Linked DNA regions of Homo sapiens: regions 1, 2 and 4 are each linked to region 3. Evidence: promoter capture Hi-C in human tissues and cell types (Jung and others, 2019). All regions are on one chromosome and are shown on one strand. Each heading gives the region's core, a stretch centred on a gene start or on the middle of the fragment in contact. The rest is flanking DNA. Distances are from core to core; before and after follow the strand shown. Region 1 overlaps ASGR2 (asialoglycoprotein receptor 2). Region 2 holds the start of ALOX12 (arachidonate 12-lipoxygenase, 12S type). Region 3 holds the start of SLC16A11 (solute carrier family 16 member 11). Region 4 holds the start of CLEC10A (C-type lectin domain containing 10A).

Region 1 (2,700 bases), core at 1-2,500, 56 kb after region 3:
GCCATATTGCCCAGGCTAGTCTCAAACTCCTGAGCTCAGGCGACCCACCACCTCAGCCTCTCAAAATGCTAAGATTATAGGCATGAGCCATTGCACCCAGCCTATTTTCACGGTTTTTTAAATTTAATCCCAATCGTGTACATTTTGAAGGGGCAATCCTAGAAAATTTTTCAACTGAAAAGTGGGAAGTCTTGACCTATCCCAAGCTTATGAGCAAAAAAATTACTTTGAAACATTCTATGTGAAAACAAAGAAACAAAAGTGGTAACTACTTGCCCCCTACAGAGAATGATTACATAATGCATGGTACATCCCTACTTTGGAATTCTCTACAGCTGCTAAATCCAAGGAGGTAAAACCTGCCAGGTAATGGCATAGATTAGACTGGTGTCCACGAGACACTGTGAAGCGGAACAGGCACTATGTAATGACATAATATTGCATCTACTCATGTACACAGGAAGGGCTCTGGCAGGGGACACAGGAAAGAGTTGACTCTGGGGAGACGGAGGAGGACTGAGAGGACACTCGTGTGCGTGCGTGTGTGTGTGTCATTTAAAACATTTTTTTACTAATAGAATGTATTACTTCTGTACTTTAAAAATTTAAAAATATGGGGCCGGGCCCCGTGGCTCATGCCTATAATCCCAGCACTTTGGAAGGCAGAGGCGGGCGGATCACCCGAGGTCAGGAGTTCAAGATCAGCCTGGCCAACATGGCGAAACGCTGTTTCTACTAAAAATACAAAAATTAGCTGGGTGTGGTGGCGCATGCCTGTAATCCCAGCTACTCGGGAGGCTGAGGCAGAAGAATCGCTTGAACCCGGGAGGTGGAGGTTGCAGTGAGCCAAGACCGCACCATTGCACTCCAGCCTGGGCAACACAGCAAGACTCCAACTTAAATAAATAATATAACCGCTGAATAGTCTTTTTAAGGTCAGTTTCAGAATGTTCTTGGAGCGGGAAGTTTGCCCACTGTGGAGATTGTTGGTGACACCCTGTGTTGAAGATATGTCTAGATCCGCTTGGGGTCAAAAAGACAGAGCCACGGTGGTGAGAAAGTGACTTACCCATCCTCCTCCTCGTCGTGACCATTTTCCTTGAAGGCTGAGAGTGGAGCTGGGGTATGCCCTGCGACCCGGTCTGGGGAGAACCCAACCGCAGAGAAAGATGTTTCCTTTGGGAGCCCTGGTGTGTCCGGAATTGGTGGGTTCTTGGTCTCACTGACTTCAAGAATGAAGCCGCGGACCCTCGCGGTGAGTGTTACAGTTCTTAAAGGCGGCGTGTCTGGAGTTTGTTCCTTCTGATGTTCAGATGTCTTCAGAGTTTCTTCCTTCTGGTAGGTTCATGGTCTCACTGGCTCAGGAGTGAAGCTGCGGAACTTCGTGGTGAGTGTTACAGCTCTTAAGGCAGTGTGGACCCAAAGAGTGAGCAGCAGCAAGATTTATTGCAAAGAGCGAAAGAACAAAGCTTCCACAGTGTGGCAGGGGACCCGAGTGGGTTGCCGCTGCTGGCTGGGGCAGCCTGCTTTTATTCTCTTATCTGGCCTGATTGGTGCGTTTACAATCCCTGAGCTAGGCACAAAGGTTCTCGACTTCCCGACCAGAGTAGCTAGATACAGAGTGTCAATTGGTGCATTCACAAACCCTGAGCTAGACACAGGGTGCTGATTGGTGTGTTTACAAACCTTGAGCTAGATACAGAGTGCCAATTGGTGCATTTACAATCCCTTAGCTAGACATAAAGGTTCTTCAAGTCCCCACCAGACTCAGGAGCCCCGCTGGCTTCACCCCATGGATCCTGCACTGGGGCCGCAGGTGGAGCTGCCTGCCAGTCCCGCGCCCTGCGCCCGCACTCCTCAGCCCTTGGGTGGTCGATGGCACTGAGCGCGCCCTGGAGCAGGGGGCGGCGCTGGTCGGGGAGGCTCGGGCCGCACAGGAGCCCACGGAGCGGGGGTCGGGGAGGCTCAGGCATGGCGGGCTGCGGGTCCCAAGCCCTGCCCCGCGGGAAGGCAGCTAAGGCGTGGCGAGAAATTGAGCACAGCAGCTGCTGGCTCAGGTGCTAAGCCCATCACTGCCCGCGGCCGGTGGGGCAGGCCGGCCACTCCGAGTGCGGGGTCCGCCGAGTCCACGCCCACCCGGAAATCGCGCTGGCCCGCAAGCGCCGCTCCCTCCACACCTCCCTGCAAGCTGAGGGAGCCGGCTCCGGCCTTGGCCAGCCCGGAAAGGGGCTCCCACAGTGCAGCGGCGGGATGAAGGGCTCCTCAAGTGCCGCCAAAGTGGGAGCCCAGGCAGAGGAGGCGCCGAGAGCGAGCGAGGGCTGTGAGGACTGCCAGCACGCTGTCACCTCTCACTGGGAGCCAGGCGGACCCTCCAGCCACAGCCCGGCCGACCCCTTTCCCACCAGTGCCAGCCACTAAGCCTGTCTGCTCCAAGCCCCTTTCCCGTTTCCCTGACCAATGTCCCTCGGGATTAGGGACCAAGGAGCAGCTGTCTAGGATGCGCGCCTTGCGTCTTCCATGCCCTCCCCTCTCCCTCCTCTTTGCATGCTGTTTCTCAGTTCCCAATAACCAGGCCACACAGAGATTCAAGCATTTGTTTCTTCTTTCCTACGCCATTGAAGAGGCTGACGATTATAATAATTACAATGAATTACAGAAGGAGGTGGGATCTCAGTCCTCCAGGGTCAGGGACTCTTAAAC
Region 2 (2,700 bases), core at 113-2,612, 48 kb before region 3:
GAGGATGTAGGCCAGAGTGGACCTAGAAGATAAGAAAGGGAATTGAATCCAGTAAGGGACAGACACTTTATTTTTTTATTTTTATTTATTTATTTATTTATTTTTGAGATAGAGTCTGATCTGGAGGCTGGAAGGCGGGGCTAAAACTCCCACTCACTTACCTCTACCAACAACTAGGCCACCAAGTCATTTCTGAGGACTGGCTCAAGAAAGCAGATTTAACTTACACTGGCCTAGCCCAGGCCACCAGATGCATCCACGGAGATCCAAATGCATATAATCACTTGAATCAAGATCTAGACAGGGACGCGTGCAGCAGGCTTCATCTGACTGATTCCTGACACGGGAGAGAAAGCCTAAGCTCCGAATCATCCTTCAATGTTTACAAAGGCCCTAAATAGCAGTGGGCTAATTGCTGTTCCTGGATTTCCAGGAGACCTGAGACCCATGAAGGAGCAGGAAAGAGCTTGGGGATAAAAAATTAATCTGGAACCTACTGGAGCGGAAGGGGCTGCACTCACCTGGAAAAGACAAAGTTCTTGGGAACTGGCCACGTAGGCCAGGTCCCTAAGCAATTCCATCCCGCACCCTAACACCCCGACTGGTGTTCCTGGGTCCCTAACATTGTCTGTACCCGCTTCGGAGGTTGGACAAAATGAGTTTTTCACTGCCCTGCCTCAGGCCTCTCTCAAAGGTCTGGCCCATGATATTTGGTGTACATTGGGACCCCAGCGCCCAGATATTTGAAACGGGGTGGGGAGCGGGTGTTGAGCTGCTACATTTCCAGGTTCTAGGTACCCTGGGGAACCCCTGGTCGTTGACGGAAGCACAGCGTTCAAGGGCGGCAGAGCTCAGGTACTGGAGGACACATGGGCCGCGCCGGGTCTAGCCGCGGGACATCCCCAGACCCCAGCACGGCCTCCCAGGCCGACCTTCCAGAAGCCGGCCCACTGCCTTCCCCGGGTCCCAGCCCAGAAAAGCGGAGACCTTCCCCTCCGTTTGGAAGATGGACTCATCCCCTACTTCCTCCTGGCTCCCCAGAAGACCTGGAGACCTCGGGAAGTGTTCTCATCTATGTTCGCTCCAACCCGGGGGCTCAGGCCCACCTCGATCCCGCCTTCCCGGGAGGTCCAGGAAGGTCCCGCCGCACCCACCCCGTTGGCCTCACCCTGGCTCGGGCCCCTTTATCATCCTGCAGCTACGCTCCGACCAGGAGGCACAGCCAGTCCCCACAGCCGGCTCTACCGCTCTGCTCGCAGGTTTGGGCTAGTCTGGGGCGGGGACTTGGGAGCGCCTAAAACTTGCGAGGAGGGCGGGGCCGCAGACCGGTCCTTTAAAGGTTGGAAGTGGCCCCGAGGCGCCGGCAGCCCTGGGCGGTCCCGGGAATCGCACAGGACCCGGCTCCCCTCGCCTAAGCTGCTGGGGGGCGCCATGGGCCGCTACCGCATCCGCGTGGCCACCGGGGCCTGGCTCTTCTCCGGGTCGTACAACCGCGTGCAGCTTTGGCTGGTCGGGACGCGCGGGGAGGCGGAGCTGGAGCTGCAGCTGCGGCCCGCGCGGGGCGAGGTCAGCGCGGGGAGCGAGGGGAGCTAGGGCAGCGGGGACCCCGGGCCCAGGCCCGGGCCGAGCTGGGCTCGCGGCGGGAGGGCGGGAGGCTGGGGGCGAGGTGACAGCGCGACCTCGCGGACTGGGACTTCCACGAAGCTGGGACGAGGTGGGCAAGATTAGGGACAGGGTCCGCAGCTGGGATCCCGGGCTGGGCTCAACCCCATCTCCCTTTCCCGCCCCTGGTCCCGGCAGCCCCCAGCTCCTTCTCCCAGTGACCCAGAGCCAATGTAAGTATGAGGCCAGAGGTCAGACGTGAAGCTCCTCCAAGAACCGGCGCGGGGAGAGCTCAGTTAATGGGACCCACGTGGGCGATGCTGCTCCAGCATCAGCTCCAGGCGCTGCGGGCCCTCGTCCTCCACCCGACTCCGGGCGTCTGAGACCCAAAGAGCAGGTTGTGCGGGGGCGGGAACGAGGCGATGCTGTCTTTGGAGGCCCTGAGAAACTGAGGTTGCACAGGAGCGCGGCTCTGTCCTCGAAACGGCCTCAGTCGGGTCCCTCCTACTAAGTCTGGCCTGGGTCCGGCCTGCACAGGAGGAGGAGTTTGATCATGACGTTGCAGAGGACTTGGGGCTCCTGCAGTTCGTGAGGCTGCGCAAGCACCACTGGCTGGTGGACGACGCGTGGTTCTGCGACCGCATCACGGTGCAGGGCCCTGGAGCCTGCGCGGAGGTGGCCTTCCCGTGCTACCGCTGGGTGCAGGGCGAGGACATCCTGAGCCTGCCCGAGGGCACCGGTGAGCAGGCGGCGTCGGGGAAGGAGGCACAAGGTCTCGGGAACTGCTGCGGGGCTAGGAGGGCAGAGTTAAGGACGGTCGGAGCAGACTTAGAGGATGTATGGGCCCAGGGCAGGTGAAATGTAGGGATCCCAGGGTGCTGGACAGAAAACGGGAAGGAGTTATGAATTCCCAAAGTTTTACACAGGCTAAGAGAGGCTGCGTGTGAGGCTGGAGGCAGGGAGTAAGTGATCTGGAGATCCCATCTTCCAAGAAGGCAAAGACAGAAAGTGGGAGTTGCAGCGATCCAGGAAAACAGAGAAGCAAAGTGAAAGTAGGAAGGAGATGTAAAGGTGACTCAGAAGTCAGGTGAGGGGACC
Region 3 (2,700 bases), core at 1-2,500:
GGCCCCCGCCTCGTTCGCTACCCCAGATCCCAACAAGCTCCTGTCACCTCCTTCACCCTGAATGACCCGGGCATCCCACTTCCCTCACCAGCGAGGAGGCCCAGGCCGAGGTAGAGATGCAGCAGATCGCTGGCGAAAGCCGAGAAGACGAAGCCCAGCGAGGCGAGGACGCCCCCAACCATCACCACGGGGCGGGCCCCCCAGCGCGTGCTCAGGGCGCTGCCCACGGGGCCTGAAAGGGGGCGGAGTCAACGGAAGACACGCCCCCGGGCCCCCAAACTCTCTCCAACACTTCTCATTGGCTGTTTGCCTCCCTCGAACTAATGGTTCTTCTCCTTGACCTCAAGATGCACTCTTTTCTAGAGCCGGTTGCCCTTTCTCAGGTTGTCGGGTAATCAGGTGGGTCTCCCATCCCTCCACTCACGGCTCCTCCTCCCCGTTCCTGTCTCCCGCCTCAGGGCCCCCCTCACTGGCTGCCTGCTGCACGGCCAGGGCCAGGGCGCTGATCCACGCAGTGTCCTGGGCGCTTCGGTCAAAGTGCTCGGCAAGGTCAGGGAAGGCAAGGCCCAGCGAGCGCAGCAGCCCGTAGGACAGCCCGTTTATCGCGAAGGCTGCGGCCGCCACCACCCAGCCCCAGCCCCCATCCGGGGGTCCGGCGGGCTGGGGGGTCATCGCCGTCTGCGGGGTGGGGAAACATCTGTGAGAGAAGCCTCCACGCCTGTGCTTCCGCTGGGGAGCTGGCATCCCTGAGATCCAGCCTCTGGCTGCTCGCCCGGGGTGGGCCCGTCACTCCGAGCGCGATGGCGCGGGGCGGAGGGAGCCGGAGCCTGGCCTAGGGCTGGAACTCCCGGGTCCGCGCGAGGTACGGGGACGGGGACAGCCAGATCCCCAGGCCCGAGGTTCCCCGTCCCACGCACACTCCTTCCCCCTTACCCGACCTCTCCGGGCGGTGCGGGGAGGGGAAGGGTGAGGAAGGGCTGGGCCCGGCTTTCTCTCTGCTTCCCAGGCGGGCGGGGGCCCCGAAGGGGAGCGAGGGCAGCGATGGAGCCCAACTTGGACGGGCTCTCTCGGTAAACAGAGATCACCACAGGGGCCTGAGCCACCTGGGACGCGGGGTGTACGGAGGGCGGGGGCGAGCTGAAACAGCCAATCCGGCAAGCCGCGCGTGAGGCCAGACGCCAGTCCCACGGGGATTGAATTATGTACACACACAACCCCCAGGCCCGGGGGAGGGGGGAGCGGCGAGAAATGAATGCAGAGGGGCCCTGCCCTACTCACACGCATGCACCTGCCGCCTGCTGCGCGCAGGGGAGACACGTGGATTGCAAACCCCAGCGAGCCCAGGGTCCACCGCCAACGCGTGGAAATAGGGATGGTCCCCAAAACCTGAGGGGATGAGTAGTTTTGTTCTCAGGAACGTTGCCGAGGACCAGGTAAATCTCGGATATCAATCAGATCACAGACCTCCACCAAGTGCCAGCTCTGTGCTTAGAATAACAGACCCCCAGGCCGGGCGCGGTGCAAGCCTGTAATCCCAGCACTTTGGGAGGCCGATGTGGGTGAATCACCTGACGTCAGGAGTTCGAGGCCAGCCTGACCAACATGGCGAAACACCATATCTACTAAAAATACAAAAAAAATTAGCCGGGTGTGGTGGCGGGCGCCTGTAGTCCCAGCTACTTGGGAGGCTGAGGCGGGGAATCGCTTGAACCCGGGAGGCAGAAGTTGCAGTGAGCCAAGATCATGCCACTGCACTCCAGCCTGGGTGACAGAGAAAGACTCTGTCTCAAAAATAAATAAATAAACAAAAATAAAATAAATAAAATAAAATAACAGGTCCTCAAGGACAGAGGGATGAAACACGACTCCCTCAATGTGAAGACCTGCAGTGTACCAGGCACCGTTTACACATGCTATCACTTCATCTTATGATAACCCTATGAAGAAGGTGTCGCTTTTCTTTTTTTTTTTTTTTAGATGGAGTTTCACTCTGTAGCCCAGGCTGGAGTACAGTGGCGAGATCTCGGCTCATTGCAACCTCTGCCTCCTAAGTTCAAGCCATTCTCCTGCCTCAGCCTCCTGAGTAGCTGGGATTACGGGCGCCTGCCACCACTCCCAGCTAATTTTTGTATTTTTTAGTAGAGATGGGGTTTCGCCATGTTGGCCAGGCTGGTCTGGAACTCCTGACCTCAGATGATCCGCCCACCTCGGCCTCCCAAAGTGCTGGGATTACAGGAGTGAGCCAACGCGCCTGGCCGATGTCGTGCCTCTTTTATAGATGCAGTAACTGAAGCTCTCAGGGAAAAAATGGTATGGATATTTGAATTTAGGTCTGTCCAACTGTGGACCTACAAGGAGAACAATCCCAGGACTGAAACAAAATCTGGCACAGTTAAGGGAAAGATCCTGGATACAGCTTGAAGCAAACTGCCCTGGAAAGGGTGGAACCATTGCAGGGACAGAAAACTTATGAGTCTAAAATAAGGGGTCACTGGGAATAGAAAGGATTCTTGAGATCAGAATCTCTAAACACTTAGGTTAGAATTTTATTTTTTATTATGTATGTATGTATGTATGTATGTATGTATGTATGTATGTATGTGTGTGTGTATTTATTTATAGAGACAGGGTCTTGTCCAGGCTGAAGTGTAGTACTGCCATTATGGCTCACTGCAGCCTCCACCTCCCAGGCTCAAGCAA
Region 4 (2,700 bases), core at 46-2,545, 36 kb after region 3:
CAGGTTGAGAATGAGCCCAGGGTTAAGACGGAAATGAGCCTGGGTTTGCAGTCGAGTTAGAATTGGGGTCGAGTTGAGTTTGGGAGTGAAACTGGAGGGTAACGTTGGAGCTAAACGCATTGCTAGGACTACCCAGTGGGCCAGTTAATCAGGCAGGACTGGAGGTTGTATCTCATGCTAGGATTGGGGTCAGTATGCACGTTGGAGCCATGGATGGAATTGGGGTTAACTTTGGTGGTGAATTTGGAAACAGAATAGAGTCGAGGTTCAATTTTGGCTTTGGGCTGGTGTTAAAATTCAAGTTGATTCTGGGGTTGGGGTTGAAGTAGGAGCTGGGTGGGGGGCGACAGGTGCGGTGGCTCACGCCTATAAATCCCAGCACTTTGGGAGACCGAAGCAGACAGATCACTTTAGGTCAGGAGTTTGAGACCGGCCTGGCCAACATGGTGAAACCCCATCTCTACTAAAAATACAAAAATTAGCTGGGTGTGGTGGTGTGCGCCTGTAATCCCAGCTACTTGGGAGGCTGAGGCAGGAGAATCACTTGAACCCAGGAGGCAGAGGTGGCAGTGAGCCGAGGTTGTGCCGTTGCACTCCAGCCTGGACGACACAGTGAGACTCAGTCTCAAAAAAAAAGAAAATGTAGAAGCTGGGGTTAGTATTGGGATTAGGGCATGGCTGGGCTGAGATGAAGATAAGGCTGGAAATGGGCCACCAATGAGGCTGAGTCTGAGTCTTAGTTTATTTTTATTTTTATTTATTTATTTTTTGAGATGGAATTTCGTTCTTGTCGCCCAGGCTGTTGTGCAACGAGGCCGTCTCGGCTCACTGCAACCTCTGCCTCCTGGGTTCACAAGATTCTCCTGCCTCAGCTCCCGGAGTCTTAGTTTATGACAGGGGATTGTGGCTGCCGTAACCCAATCTAGAATCCAGTGAAGGGAACAGAGTCTCAAATCTCCACGTAGTAATTAAACCCCACACTGCCGCCTTATATTTATTTTCATTTAGTCCCACCCAAGACCCAAAGTCCCCCTCTCCCTGCTTCCTCTGACATCCCCTGTCCCCTGGGTCTCACCGGCACCGGCAGCACCATTACCTGTGGGAGGTCTGGAGGGTGTGATTCCCACGTTGGTTGTGCTGCAAGGACCAGAGGTGGGACGTCACTCAGAGTTGGGAGCGCTGTGTCCTGGAGAGCTGGGGTAGAGGTGACTGGAGTCCTGCTGGTCTTGGGTCTGAAATCCCAGGAGCCCTATCATCTGGGACATCCCATCTCCTCAACTTTAGACAGTAAATGAGAATGAACAGGGATTAGAACACACAGAGACCATGTGTGGGTGGGGAGAGTTGGGTTTGAGGCCAGCTCTGTTCTCCTCCTCCAGGCCATGCCTACTTCCTTTCCTCTTCTCGGAGCTTCCTCATTTTTACCATCTGGGAGCAGGGCTGGATCAGAGGTACAATCTGCTGTTGCTCCTCTACCCTACACTTCCTTTCACTTCCTGCCTCTACATTTCCCAGAATTGTTGGGTCTCCATCATCGCACCTCTGATCCTAGAGAAGCCCAGTCTGTTCTCTTGCTCAATCCTGGCCTGAGTCCCTGGCATCAGCATCCTCTGGGTCCCAGTCATTCGGCTGCTCAGCTGTGGCCTCGCTCGCCTCACTCCACTCGGAAGGAGGGAAGGGGGTGCCAGAGAATAGAACTTCTTGGCCCTAATAGGACGGGAGAAGCCAAGGAAAAGAGCAAATTTTATTGAGTAATCTGTGATAGGATTATGCCAGACATTTACCTTCCACAACCATTCCCCCCAAGCACCTGGGGAGGCATTTTGGATGACGGACTAAAGGCTCAGAGCCCAAGATCACTCACAGCTTGTAAGGAGACAGTTTGGCACCCTGCTCTGGCTCTCAGCACAGGCGCTGTCTTCATGAACAGGATTCCATTTCATCCCATGATCCCTGCTCAACCCCTAAGGGAGCTGCCCTGAATCCACGCGCACATCCCTTTCAGTAGGAAGGAAACTGAGTATCTTACAAGGTGGAGAAGGAGAAGAAATACATTTTAGGTTATATTTTGTATGTACATGGGGTTGTGTTCTGCTATGTGCTTTTTTTTTTTTTTTTTGGAGTTAACAAGCTATCAGGAACATTTCTCCACATCAGTTTATAAAATGTACTTGATCTACCTGCACCTCATTTCATCATAGGCACCGTAATTTATTTATTTAGCATTTCTCTATTGACAGAAATAAATCAGAAATTTAAGTTGTTTCTTTTTCTTTTCTTTTTTATTTTATTTATTTATTTATTTTTTTGAGACAGAGTCTCACTCTGTTGCCCAGGCTGGAGTGCAGTGACACAATCTCGGCTACTGCATCTCCTGGGTTTAAGCGATTCTCCTGCCTCAGCCTCCCGAGTAGCCGAGATTACAGGTCCCGCCACCACACCCAGCTAATTCTTGTATTTTTAGTAGAGAGGGGTTTCACCATATTGGCCAGGCTGGTCTTGACCTCCTGACCTCACATGATCTGCCCGCCTCAGCCTCCCAAAGTGCAGGGATTACAGGCGCGAGCCACCGCACCCGGCCAGGTCGTTGCCAGTTTTGTTTTTATTTGGTATTCGGTATTTTGATTAGTATATGTCGCAGGTTCGGTTTTTGGAAGCCAAGGTTGAGGCTGAATTTGGGGTACAAGCTATTTATTAGGG

What was found. Contacts are between HindIII fragments. The study calls those that stand out against the background at their distance.
Region 1: a contact is called between a fragment that was not itself captured here and the fragment with the promoter of SLC16A11 in region 3, in 3 of the 25 tissues and cell types used here (H1 embryonic stem cells, dorsolateral prefrontal cortex and spleen).
Region 2: a contact is called between the fragment with the promoter of ALOX12 here and the fragment with the promoter of SLC16A11 in region 3, in 1 of the 25 tissues and cell types used here (pancreas).
Region 4: the fragment with the promoter of CLEC10A here is called in contact with the fragment with the promoter of SLC16A11 in region 3 in 1 of the 25 tissues and cell types used here (spleen).

The regions. Positions count from the first base shown.
Region 1 is chr17:7,098,742-7,101,441 of GRCh38, forward strand. It overlaps ASGR2 (asialoglycoprotein receptor 2), which reads right to left. Exons shown (of 9, transcript NM_001201352.2): 9 at 2,585-2,700. Among named protein-coding and RNA genes, the nearest start is that of ASGR2, 15 kb to the right of the region's middle. The HindIII fragment of the contact is 3,021 bases long and covers 1-2,700 here.
Region 2 is chr17:6,994,687-6,997,386 of GRCh38, forward strand. It overlaps ALOX12 (arachidonate 12-lipoxygenase, 12S type), which reads left to right and starts at 1,363. Exons shown (of 14, transcript NM_000697.3): 1 at 1,363-1,566; 2 at 2,140-2,341. The coding sequence starts at 1,432. All of the region lies in intron 2 of ALOX12-AS1 (ALOX12 antisense RNA 1), which reads right to left. The HindIII fragment of the contact is 20,112 bases long and covers 1-2,700 here.
Region 3 is chr17:7,042,842-7,045,541 of GRCh38, forward strand. SLC16A11 (solute carrier family 16 member 11) reads right to left here and starts at 1,251. Exons shown (of 5, transcript NM_001370549.1): 1 at 934-1,251; 2 at 471-678; 3 at 89-232. The coding sequence starts at 672. It overlaps LOC124903909 (a long non-coding RNA gene), which reads left to right and starts at 226. Exons shown (of 2, transcript XR_007065598.1): 1 at 226-399. RefSeq lists silencers at 598-657, 728-857. The HindIII fragment of the contact is 14,065 bases long and covers 1-2,700 here.
Region 4 is chr17:7,078,956-7,081,655 of GRCh38, forward strand. It overlaps CLEC10A (C-type lectin domain containing 10A), which reads right to left and starts at 1,296. Exons shown (of 9, transcript NM_001330070.2): 1 at 1,097-1,296. The HindIII fragment of the contact is 8,990 bases long and covers 1-2,700 here.